Linked DNA regions of Homo sapiens: all the other regions are linked to region 3. Evidence: promoter capture Hi-C in 16 types of primary human blood cells and fetal thymus (Javierre and others, 2016). All regions are on one chromosome and are shown on one strand. Each heading gives the region's core, a stretch centred on a gene start or on the middle of the fragment in contact. The rest is flanking DNA. Distances are from core to core; before and after follow the strand shown. Region 1 overlaps ATF7IP (activating transcription factor 7 interacting protein). Region 2 overlaps ATF7IP (activating transcription factor 7 interacting protein). Region 3 holds the start of HEBP1 (heme binding protein 1).

Evidence for each region. Contacts are between HindIII fragments. The CHiCAGO score rates a contact against its expected background, and 5 or more counts as called.
Region 1: a fragment that was not itself captured here is called in contact with the fragment with the promoter of HEBP1 in region 3 in 2 of 17 cell types (M2 macrophages and erythroblasts); the score reaches 9.2 in M2 macrophages.
Region 2: a fragment that was not itself captured here is called in contact with the fragment with the promoter of HEBP1 in region 3 in 4 of 17 cell types (M2 macrophages, erythroblasts, total CD4 T cells and 1 more); the score reaches 7.1 in M2 macrophages.

The regions. Positions count from the first base shown.
Region 1 is chr12:14,372,998-14,376,073 of GRCh38, reverse strand. The region is part of intron 1 of ATF7IP (activating transcription factor 7 interacting protein); the gene reads right to left. Among named protein-coding and RNA genes, the nearest start is that of ATF7IP, 8.9 kb to the right of the region's middle. The HindIII fragment of the contact is 4,822 bases long and covers 1-3,076 here.
Region 2 is chr12:14,388,664-14,391,875 of GRCh38, reverse strand. The region is part of intron 1 of ATF7IP (activating transcription factor 7 interacting protein); the gene reads right to left. Among named protein-coding and RNA genes, the nearest start is that of ATF7IP, 25 kb to the right of the region's middle. The HindIII fragment of the contact is 8,543 bases long and covers 1-3,212 here.
Region 3 is chr12:12,998,687-13,001,818 of GRCh38, reverse strand. It overlaps HEBP1 (heme binding protein 1), which reads left to right and starts at 1,554. Exons shown (of 4, transcript NM_015987.5): 1 at 1,554-1,782. The coding sequence starts at 1,705. All of the region lies in intron 2 of GPRC5D-AS1 (GPRC5D and HEBP1 antisense RNA 1), which reads right to left. It also overlaps the pseudogene HTR7P1. RefSeq lists an enhancer at 1-35 and silencers at 460-609, 1,370-1,489, 1,540-1,689. The HindIII fragment of the contact is 1,773 bases long and covers 697-2,469 here.

The DNA of each region.
Region 1 (3,076 bases), core at 509-3,008, 1.4 Mb before region 3:
CGTTTTTTCCTTTAAATACCCGTTTGTTTTTTAATGAGTCAGTCCTAAAACTGGTCTCCATCACAAACCTTTACAAGTAAACTACTTTCTTAAATGCTTATTTACCTTACTAATGAGTGGTAATATGAAACCGACCTTTCCAAGTTACTTTTTAAATGCATTTACATTCTAGCTCCAGAAATCAAGAATATTATTTTCATAAATCTCCCTGTACTGCAGGGCTCCCTGCACATAGTTGCTTCTTAATAAATATTCATGACTGACTAATTGATTCACCAATTGATTAAAGCTAGAGATATGTGTGAGGCACAGATGCTAAGCATTTTATATATCTAATCATATTTAACCCTCACAACACTACCATGTAGGTGGTAACACCACATTTTAAAGATAAAGAACACTGAGAGGAGACACTAATTGCCCAGGTCCCAATACAAAACTACTGTTCTTTCCACTTCACTGTATAACTAACTGATTTTAGGAAAATTTTTTGTTTTTTCTTTTGTTCTTCTTTTCTTTCTTCATTTTTTTATTTATTTTTATCTTTCAATGTTTAAATCATTTAAAGTAAGTTTGGTGGGGGAAGAGGATTATACAAACCTAAAATACAAAATAATTATATCATTCCATCTTTTCCTCAAACCCTTATTAATTTACATACGTAGGTTCTTCACAGTCATATTTTAGAAACTTTTTATTAACAAGCAACTGGTTCTTAATGGATGACATTGAAAACTGTTTTTCCTAAAAGCAACTATTTATTATTTTTCATATGTAAAGTGCCTGTCAAATCTTCCCATGACAATTCATCATGTGGGTATTTGCCATCTGAGTAAATTACATGTTTGATTAAAAAAAAAAAGTTCTGACATCTGTGGATAATGAGTTAAATAAAAGAAAATAATTAGAATATCTTATTCCCTTTTTTTTTTCACCTCCACCTAAAACGAAGGAATTCTATTCTTTCAATAAGCAAGTATTTATTGAATATTAAGGGAGGCATGGTGGAAAGCAAGGCATGGTGGAAAGCAATCTTACACTTTTAATAGTGGTCTTATCATACCTTATTAGAAAGGATTTGTCTTAAAAAATTGTCAGATATATCAATAAGATATGATTCCTAACCCCAGGAAACTTATAAAGTACTACACAAAAAACAAATAACTATAAATATAAAAGTGGAAAGGAATAAATGCCTTTAAAAAATATATGAAGTAAAGCAAAGAAAAATTAGAGAATTTCCAGTTGAGAGCAACAACATGCTTTAATAGGCATACTATGTGGGTGCCATGGCAACTATGACTTTTATTCACAAAAACCAAGGATTTGTATCACAGAGCTATTAAGAGTTCTCCTAACACACTACCTTCCTTTCTGGCTCTAAGATTTTGAACATACTATTTATTCTCTTTACTAGTATTATCTGTCTAATTCATTCCTTAAAATACAACTCCCATAAAATCTCCTTGATCTCCTTCCAACACTCTCACCACTTTCTGTACCCTACAAAAATATATATTGTTTTACTTGTCATATTCTGTAGAAAGCTACTTTTAACTACTTACTTATTAATCAGGTAAGTTTTGCCTATATGCAGAGAATTTACAACCACAATCTTTTTACCTGTGTATATTACAAGGCCCTTGGAAGTCACATTTTCGGCCAGGCACAGTGGCTCACACCTGTAATCCCAACATTTTGGGAGGCCAAGAGGGGAGGATTGCTTGAGCCCAGGAGTTCAAGACCAGCCTGGGCAACAAGGCAAGACCCCCATCTCCACAAAAAAAAAAAAAAAAAAAAATTACAAAATTAGCTGGGTTTGGTGGCATGTGCCTGTAGTCCAAGCTACCTAGGAGGCTGAGTCAGGAGGATCCCTTGAGCCCAGGAGGTCAAGGTTACAGTGAGCCATGATCACACCACTGCACTCCAGCTGGAGTGACAGAGTGAGACCCTAGTCTCAATTAAAAAAAAAAAAAGTCATATTTTCCATCATGGAAAATGTATATTTTATACATACAGTTATAAACAGAGAAAAAAAAATCTGGATAAAATAATGCAAACATAAACTATTCAAACAATTGTCACTCGATTCATCTACAGTCCTTTTGAATTAAGCAAGTTAACCTGTAAAGTTCAAAAATACTACACTGAGTTTTAAAAATTTGAAATTCTAATTCTTGCAAAACTAATCATAATGTTTTCAACGGCAAGCAGAGAGGGGAAGAATTCTATCAAATATAAATATTTATAATAACTGGGACCCCAACCACAAATCATGAACACAAAACCCCCAAAATACCATTTCAATGGAAAATATACAGTTATACTATAACTGAACCTAAATCTTAAAAGAGAAATAGTTTTCAGTACCAAATTATGAAGTACTTTGAGACCACTTCTCCCAATTCCTTATATAGCAGAAAATGCTATTCATTAATATCCATTTCTCTTTTATAAAATTCTCTAGTTTTAGCTAAGCATATGATTATCCAGCTAGATATATTTCCCAGACTTCCTTTCCCAGCTAAATATGTCCCAATGACTAAATGATCACACATAAACCATGAGTCAAAGTGCTATGTGCCACTTCCATATCATGCTCTCAAAAGAAAGAATATGCACTCCCATTGTTCTTTCTTCCTTGCCTCTAGCTAGTAAAACTAGAGAGTAATCATGTTTCACCTAGTGATGGAAGCCATATGTTAAGGCAAAACCACTTACAAACTCTAAACAGTCTTACTTTGTATGGTTACATGAGAAAAAAACATGTGTCATCTTTAAACAACAGGAATGGAGTCTCCTATACTGTGGCAGCTTAGTTTTTACTCTAATGGAATTCACTTCTGACATTTACCACCTAAAAGGAAATAAAAGAGTTCAAAAGCAGTCTCTCTTTTCCCTTACATGCTTTTTCCTATGACATTCTATCTAATAAGAGTAACAGGGCAGATATACATCTAAGGCTCCAAAGCCTTAGCTGGGAATAAGCTGCAGCAGTCAAGTCATCCTTTATTGTTCCATCAAACTCTTTCTCCTGGTCCTCAAAACAGCAGATTCCCTTTCCATCTTTTTAGCT
Region 2 (3,212 bases), core at 119-2,618, 1.4 Mb before region 3:
GTGGCGCACGCCTATAATCCCAGCTACTCAGGAGGCTGAGGCAGGAAGACCGCTTGAACCTGGGAGGCGGAGGTTGAAGTGAGCTGAGATAGCACCATTGCACTCCAGCTTGGGCAACAAGAGCAAAACTCTGTCTCAAAACAAACAAACAAACAAACAAAATACCTAAGACTTACTGAACACATAATCATAAATAGGTACTGTACTTTGAGCACTATATATCCATTTTTCATATAACCTATAACTAATGAGAGGAAGAACATGGATTCACCCTGACTCTGTTTGACTCAAAGTTGGTGTTCTTCCAACGACCCATCTCATTTAATGATCAGGGATAACACAAAGAGGTTAAATATTTATCCAAAACTACACAATTACTTAATAACAGTACGAGAGCAGAAGTAATCTTTTCCTAACTTCTATACTAATGTTTTCCACTATGTATGCCATGGTACAGGTATTTCTATATCCAACAAAGGGATACACGAGTCAGATAGTTCTACTGGCAGTTGGCTAGCTGTATCTGCCTTACTTCAGAAGGAAAGACAAGATTCCCTCAGGCAGATGCAGAAGCAACTCCTCAGACCTCTCTCCAGTGTTAAGGTCCCTCTTTCACTAAACTGATGAAGATTTGCTAAATCAATTTGTGCTGTTTTCACAATTTCCATATTCACATATTAATGACTAATAACAGACTGTTACATATCACCAACAGAGAACTCTTTGTGAGAGTTCTAACCTGAGCAATTAAAAAACAATCACTTATTTGAATAGACATTAGGCTTTCTCTCAAATCACTTTCTCTTTTCAAAGTGTGAAGAGCAGTAAAGCAGGGGAGTCACTGTTTCCTGTGCAAGTTAATCACTTTTTCAATTTTCTCTAAAGTTGAACTCTAACTAGAAAACCATTTTCCAAAAAGGCATAACATTCTTTTAGCACTTCCTTAGAGTTACCAATGTCGTGGTATTATTTGAATGTTAACAAGCTGGCTTTCACTCTGGGAAATGTGGAATTCAAATTTAAGTCAGATCAAGATTATAAATTATCATGTTTCATGCATCATCAAGGTAGTCTTCACATAGACACTGTAAATGTTAAATTAATAAATGTAAATAGATGTAAGTTTTCAACAAAAATAAAGTTTGTAATGGCCTAACGGCCATTATCTAATCTAGTGTACGGTTAAGAAAACATTCTATTAGGAAATTTACTCATTATTTTCAGTGATAAACTTCTTAGCTCAACTAATTTGAGCAAAAATCTTTTATAAAATGTTATTTCATTTATCTGTTCAGTAAACTGCATAGCTTGAATACACTTTAACTTTTTCTTATTCAGTATCACCATTAAGAACATCAAGTTGATAGTGATGTCCTTTAACACAGCGGTAACATTTAAAGAAAACAGAACTGATTATCACATAAAAGATCTCAAGGTACTTAGATGTTTCTAATTAGTATTTCTTTAATCTCTTCACTTTCAATCGTTACTTGTTGTTATGCCATTGGATCTCCTTCATTTGGCTCCCATGGCACTCTATATAAAATTAGGACAAAGTGAAAGGTTACAAAAGGTGCCATATCTTCTAAAGAGTAAACTGACTTTATATATTCTAAGTCTCTCCTACCAAGTAAAGTAGGCTAAATTTTACTTATGTTTACTTTCTTTTGGGTTAGAAGTTATATTTTAGATATTTAAGGCTGCCAATAAACTATCAAATACGTAGGATAGGTCTTTAAAAGGAACTGTCTTCCAAGGCCACGCAGGTAACGTGATTCAGTGAAGAGGACCAGAGGTGGGCAAGAGAAGGCCCTATCTGAAGGAGACAGCATCTATACTCAATTGTAGATTGCTATCCTCAAGCAAAAATGTTGTTTGCTTTTCAAGAGGCAAGACATCTAGATTTTTAGGTAAAATCTGACAACTTTAAATGTTAACAATTAGAGAAATGGGGCTGGGGGCGGTGGCTCACGCCTGTAATCCCAGCACTTTGGGAGGCCGAGGCGGGCGGATCACCTAAGGTCAGGAGTTCAAGACCAGCCTCAACATGGAGAAACCCAGTCTCTACTAAAAATACAAAATTAGCCGGGCGTGGTGGTGCATGCCTGTAAACCCAGCTACTCGGGAGGCTGAGGCAGGAGAATTGCTTGAACCTGGGAGGCAGAGGTTGCGGTGAGCCGAGATCGCGCCATTGCACTCCAGCCTAGGCAACAAGAGCGAAACTCCGTCTCAAAAACAAAAAAAACAAAAAACAAACAATTAGAGAAATGGGCTGGTGACTAAAGAATAAAAGTAAGTTTGCTGGCTGCCAGTTTATAGCTCTGAAAATGAATTTTTTTCAAAGAGAATTTACTGTTTTTATGATTCTTATTTGTACTGAAACACAGGAAACTCTAGGCCGTGAATTCAAGTCATGTTTTTAGATAAGTTATTTTCTCACAGTGTATTTGAAGAACTCAGCCAGACTATACCCAAAACACTTCTCCTACTCCTCTAAATTCTGTAATGTCAACATTCTATATTGGCTTTACTTAATAAATACATCTGCCATATCCATACACAACAAAGGATGGCTAATTTATGCTAACAGAGTAGGACCCAGTACTACAAAAACGAATATATAACATTACTAAGTGGATATGATGTTACTTAGCACTTCTTGCTTCTGAGCATGAGTTATATAAGAAATTTCCCATAGTTTTTAAATACACACTGATCCAATCACACTTGAAAAGGTATATGACACTCGAGAGGCAAATAAACTGAAATGCATTTGGATATTACTGAGAAAATTAGTATGCAAGATTTTTGCAGAGTATTTCAAGATACTATTCTGAAACATTATGTAAATTGATTCTGAGCATATGCTTACCAAATAGATAGGAAATTTCCCCCATTTTATAGACGAAGAAACGAAAATCAAAAAATGGAATGAACACAGGGCACGATGCCTCATGCCTGTAATCCCAGCATGTCAGGAAGCTGAGGTGGTCAGATCACTTGAGGCCAGGAGTTCGAGACCAGCTTGGCCAACATGATAAAACCCCGTCTCTACTAAAAACACAAAAATTAGCTTGGTGGCACATGCCTGTAATACCAGCTACTCAGGAGGCTGAGGCACAAGAATTGTTTGAACCCAGGAAGTGGAGGTTGTAGTGAGCTCAGATTGCCACTGCACTCCAGCCTGAGAAACAGAGTGAGACTCTGTCTCC
Region 3 (3,132 bases), core at 305-2,804:
ACACGGAGATACCACCAGGCAGTTGCCCGCGATCGCAGAGAGATGAGCGTCAGGACAGAGCCGATCACAACTTTCTCGGCCCTTTCTTGATTTGCTCCCCGCGGCCGGAGGCATTGCCCGGGGTTGCGTCCCAGGTGGGCGCCGGGCTGGCCGTCACCTCGGGGGCCCCCGCTCAGCAGATGCGGCGTCCCGGAGACCGCGACCGGTTCGGCGCCACCGTCGGGGCTCAGGTCGGGCAGCCTGCCCCCCACCTCCGGCAGGAGGAAAGAGCAGAGGCGCCCGTAGAGGTCCGGGTGGCCGCTGCTGTTAACATCCATCACTGCGCCGCCGTGTGGCGCTGCCCAAGAAGCCGCCCCACCCCCCTCCCCACCCCCGCGGCCGCCACAGGCTCCGGCTTTCGGCCCCGGGGCTTCAACTCGCCGGTTCCCCTCCGCCCGGCCCAGCTTGAGGCCTGCACCGGCCGCTGGGCAGCGCCAGGCTCGGCCTCGGGGCCCCGCCTGTCCCAGATCCCCGGCCGCTGCGTGAAACGCGAGAGCGCTGCCGAGCGGGGACTCCCTGAGGGAGGGACCTCGGACCCCGACGGACGCCCGGGACGCGCGGGCTCTCGGGCGCTCCGGCGGGGCTCGGCCCGCGGCTCCACAGCCCGCTGCACCCGCGCGGCTCGGAGCAATGGAGGATCAGGCAGCGGCAGAAGCTTCCGTTTCCTCCTTTTTAAATGGCTCCAAAATATTTCTTGTCGGTGGTGTGGAGTAGAGATTTATTGGTAAAATACTTGACAGAAAGCAGGCACTCAGCTGAGTAAATGGTGACAAAATTGGTGAGAAGATTTTTGAACAGGAGTGAACGAGAAAAGCCATGCTTAGAAAAGTCACCTGGAAACTGTGATTTAGAGGGATGGTAGGAAAGAGTGGCAGCAGGAAAGTGGTTTGGATGCTCTTTCAATGGTCTAGAAGAGGTCATGGGGCGGGGGTAGAGGGACAGCTACCAAGACAGGGAGCCTGGCCGCCGCTGTACCAGCGGGATCGAGCCTTCGGGTAGAGGACCGGAGAAGCGTGAGCAACCCGGGGCTCGGAGGTTGGAGCCCAGGCACCTGAGAGAGGACGTTCCCCACCACCGCTGCCTAAAGCCACTCCAGGCGAGAATCGCTTTCCAGGGCCCCAGCGGATAGGTTAGACTCAGAATAAGAGAAGGGGTCTGCGGAGGGGGACGGCCTGAGGCCCGCGGCCGGGTTCCCTCCCCAGACACCCGCGGAAAGCCCGAAAGGAGGCGGAACACGGCCCAGCGGCTCGCCACGGCGGGCCCATCCCTTGCTTAGCCGCCTCGCACCCTCGCCTCACCGCACTGCTGCACTGCTGCACTGCTGCCCTGCTGCCCGCCCTTCGCATCACTGACCCGCCCTCTCTCCGCCCCCTCGCCTCGCCGCCCCGCCCTCTCTCTCCGCCCCTTCACCTCGCCGTCCCGCCCCCTTGCCTCACCGCCGGGCTGAATTGCCGCCCCGCCCTCTAGCCACGCCCTCTGGCCCCTGCCTCTAGCCCCGCCTCTCGCCTCGCCGCCTCGCCGTCCCGCCGCCTTGCCGCCCTGCCACCCTGCCGCCCTGCCGCCCTGCCGCCCTGCCGCCCTGCCGCCGGTGGTCGCTGCCCGTGGTGCTCCGTCGCCCCCGCCACCTCACGTCCTCCCGTGCGTCGGGAGCGTCTCGGCTACAACATGTTGGGCATGATCAAGAACTCGCTGTTCGGAAGCGTAGAGACGTGGCCTTGGCAGGTCCTAAGCAAAGGGGACAAGGTAGGCCCGCAGGGCTGCCGAGGACCTGAAGGATTGCTGCCTCCCACCCCCACCCTCGTCGGGGCTGCAGCGGGTGCTGAGGGGCAGGTGGGGCAGGAATGTGCTATCGAAGGTGCGTTCTGGTGTCTGTCGCGAGTGCGGCTCTCCACCGCCCAGCATTTGGACTGGGAAGGAAAGGAGTGAGAGGTCCCCCTGCAGCCGGTGGTGAGAGGAGGGGGGTAAACAGGAGAGACTGATCCAAGGAGAGAATCCCAACTTGGGGAGTTGGGCACTGCCTGTTGAATGCATTCTTTCGTTTAAAATATTCCAAACATTCCGAACAGTTTGATTTGTTGAGAGACACTCGGTTGCAGAAATGAGTGTCGCAAGAAACTCCCAAGTACTAGAGAACTGCGGATAGTAGCCCCCTTTATCCGCGATTTCAGTTACCTGTGGTCAGCTCTTGTCCATAACTATTAAATGGAAAATTCCAGAAATACAGAAGTCCTAAGTTTTAAGTTTCCGGCCATTCTGCGTAGCAGGATGAAATCTTGATTCCTGGGACCGGAATGCCCCTTTGTCCAAGGTCAGCCTCCTATCTCTAGTAGCCGCCCTTAGTCACTTAGTAGCTAGCTTGGTGATCGGATCGACCGTGGCGGTATTGAAGTAACCCTTATTTTACTTAGTAATGGCCCCAAAGTGCAAGCTTAGCAATGCTGGCATATTGTTATAATTGCTGTTATTTTATTATTGTTGTTCATCTCTTACTGTGCCTAATTGATAAAGTTAAACTATATCATAGGTATGTATGTATAGGAAAAAACGTAGTAGATACAGGGTTCAGTTTTGTCCACCGTTTCAGGTATCCACTGGGGGGCTTGGAAGGTATCTACTATAGATAAGGGGGACTACTGTGTAAAAGAACAAGATCTGTGCAGAATAGATATAAATGCGCTACGCAGGGAGCACAGAGGCAGTCAATTCTGCCAGGGGGCTATGATGGGGACCTCAGTGGAGTGTCCTGAGCTGGGGCCTCAGGGATGTGTAGGAGTGCACACAACAGAGAAGAGCATGCACAAAGGCCCAGAGCTGTACCATTGCTTTTGGCCAGTTAGATCCTCTGGAGTTGGGTACCTAGAATACAGAATGAGTGAGAAGAGCATAATTGCTGTCTTCCCCCAAATTTATATCAGTGCTAACATGGGCTAACTGGACTGCACCCCTGAAAACAAGGAGAGTGCTGCTAGATTATAATCTCCTGGTGGACAGGTAGTTTAAACAGTGCAGCTGTATACAGAGCTCCCAATACGATGCCTCATTTGTGAAAGGACTGTATTGCCTGGGGGCCAAGTTCTGATACCTAGTACAATG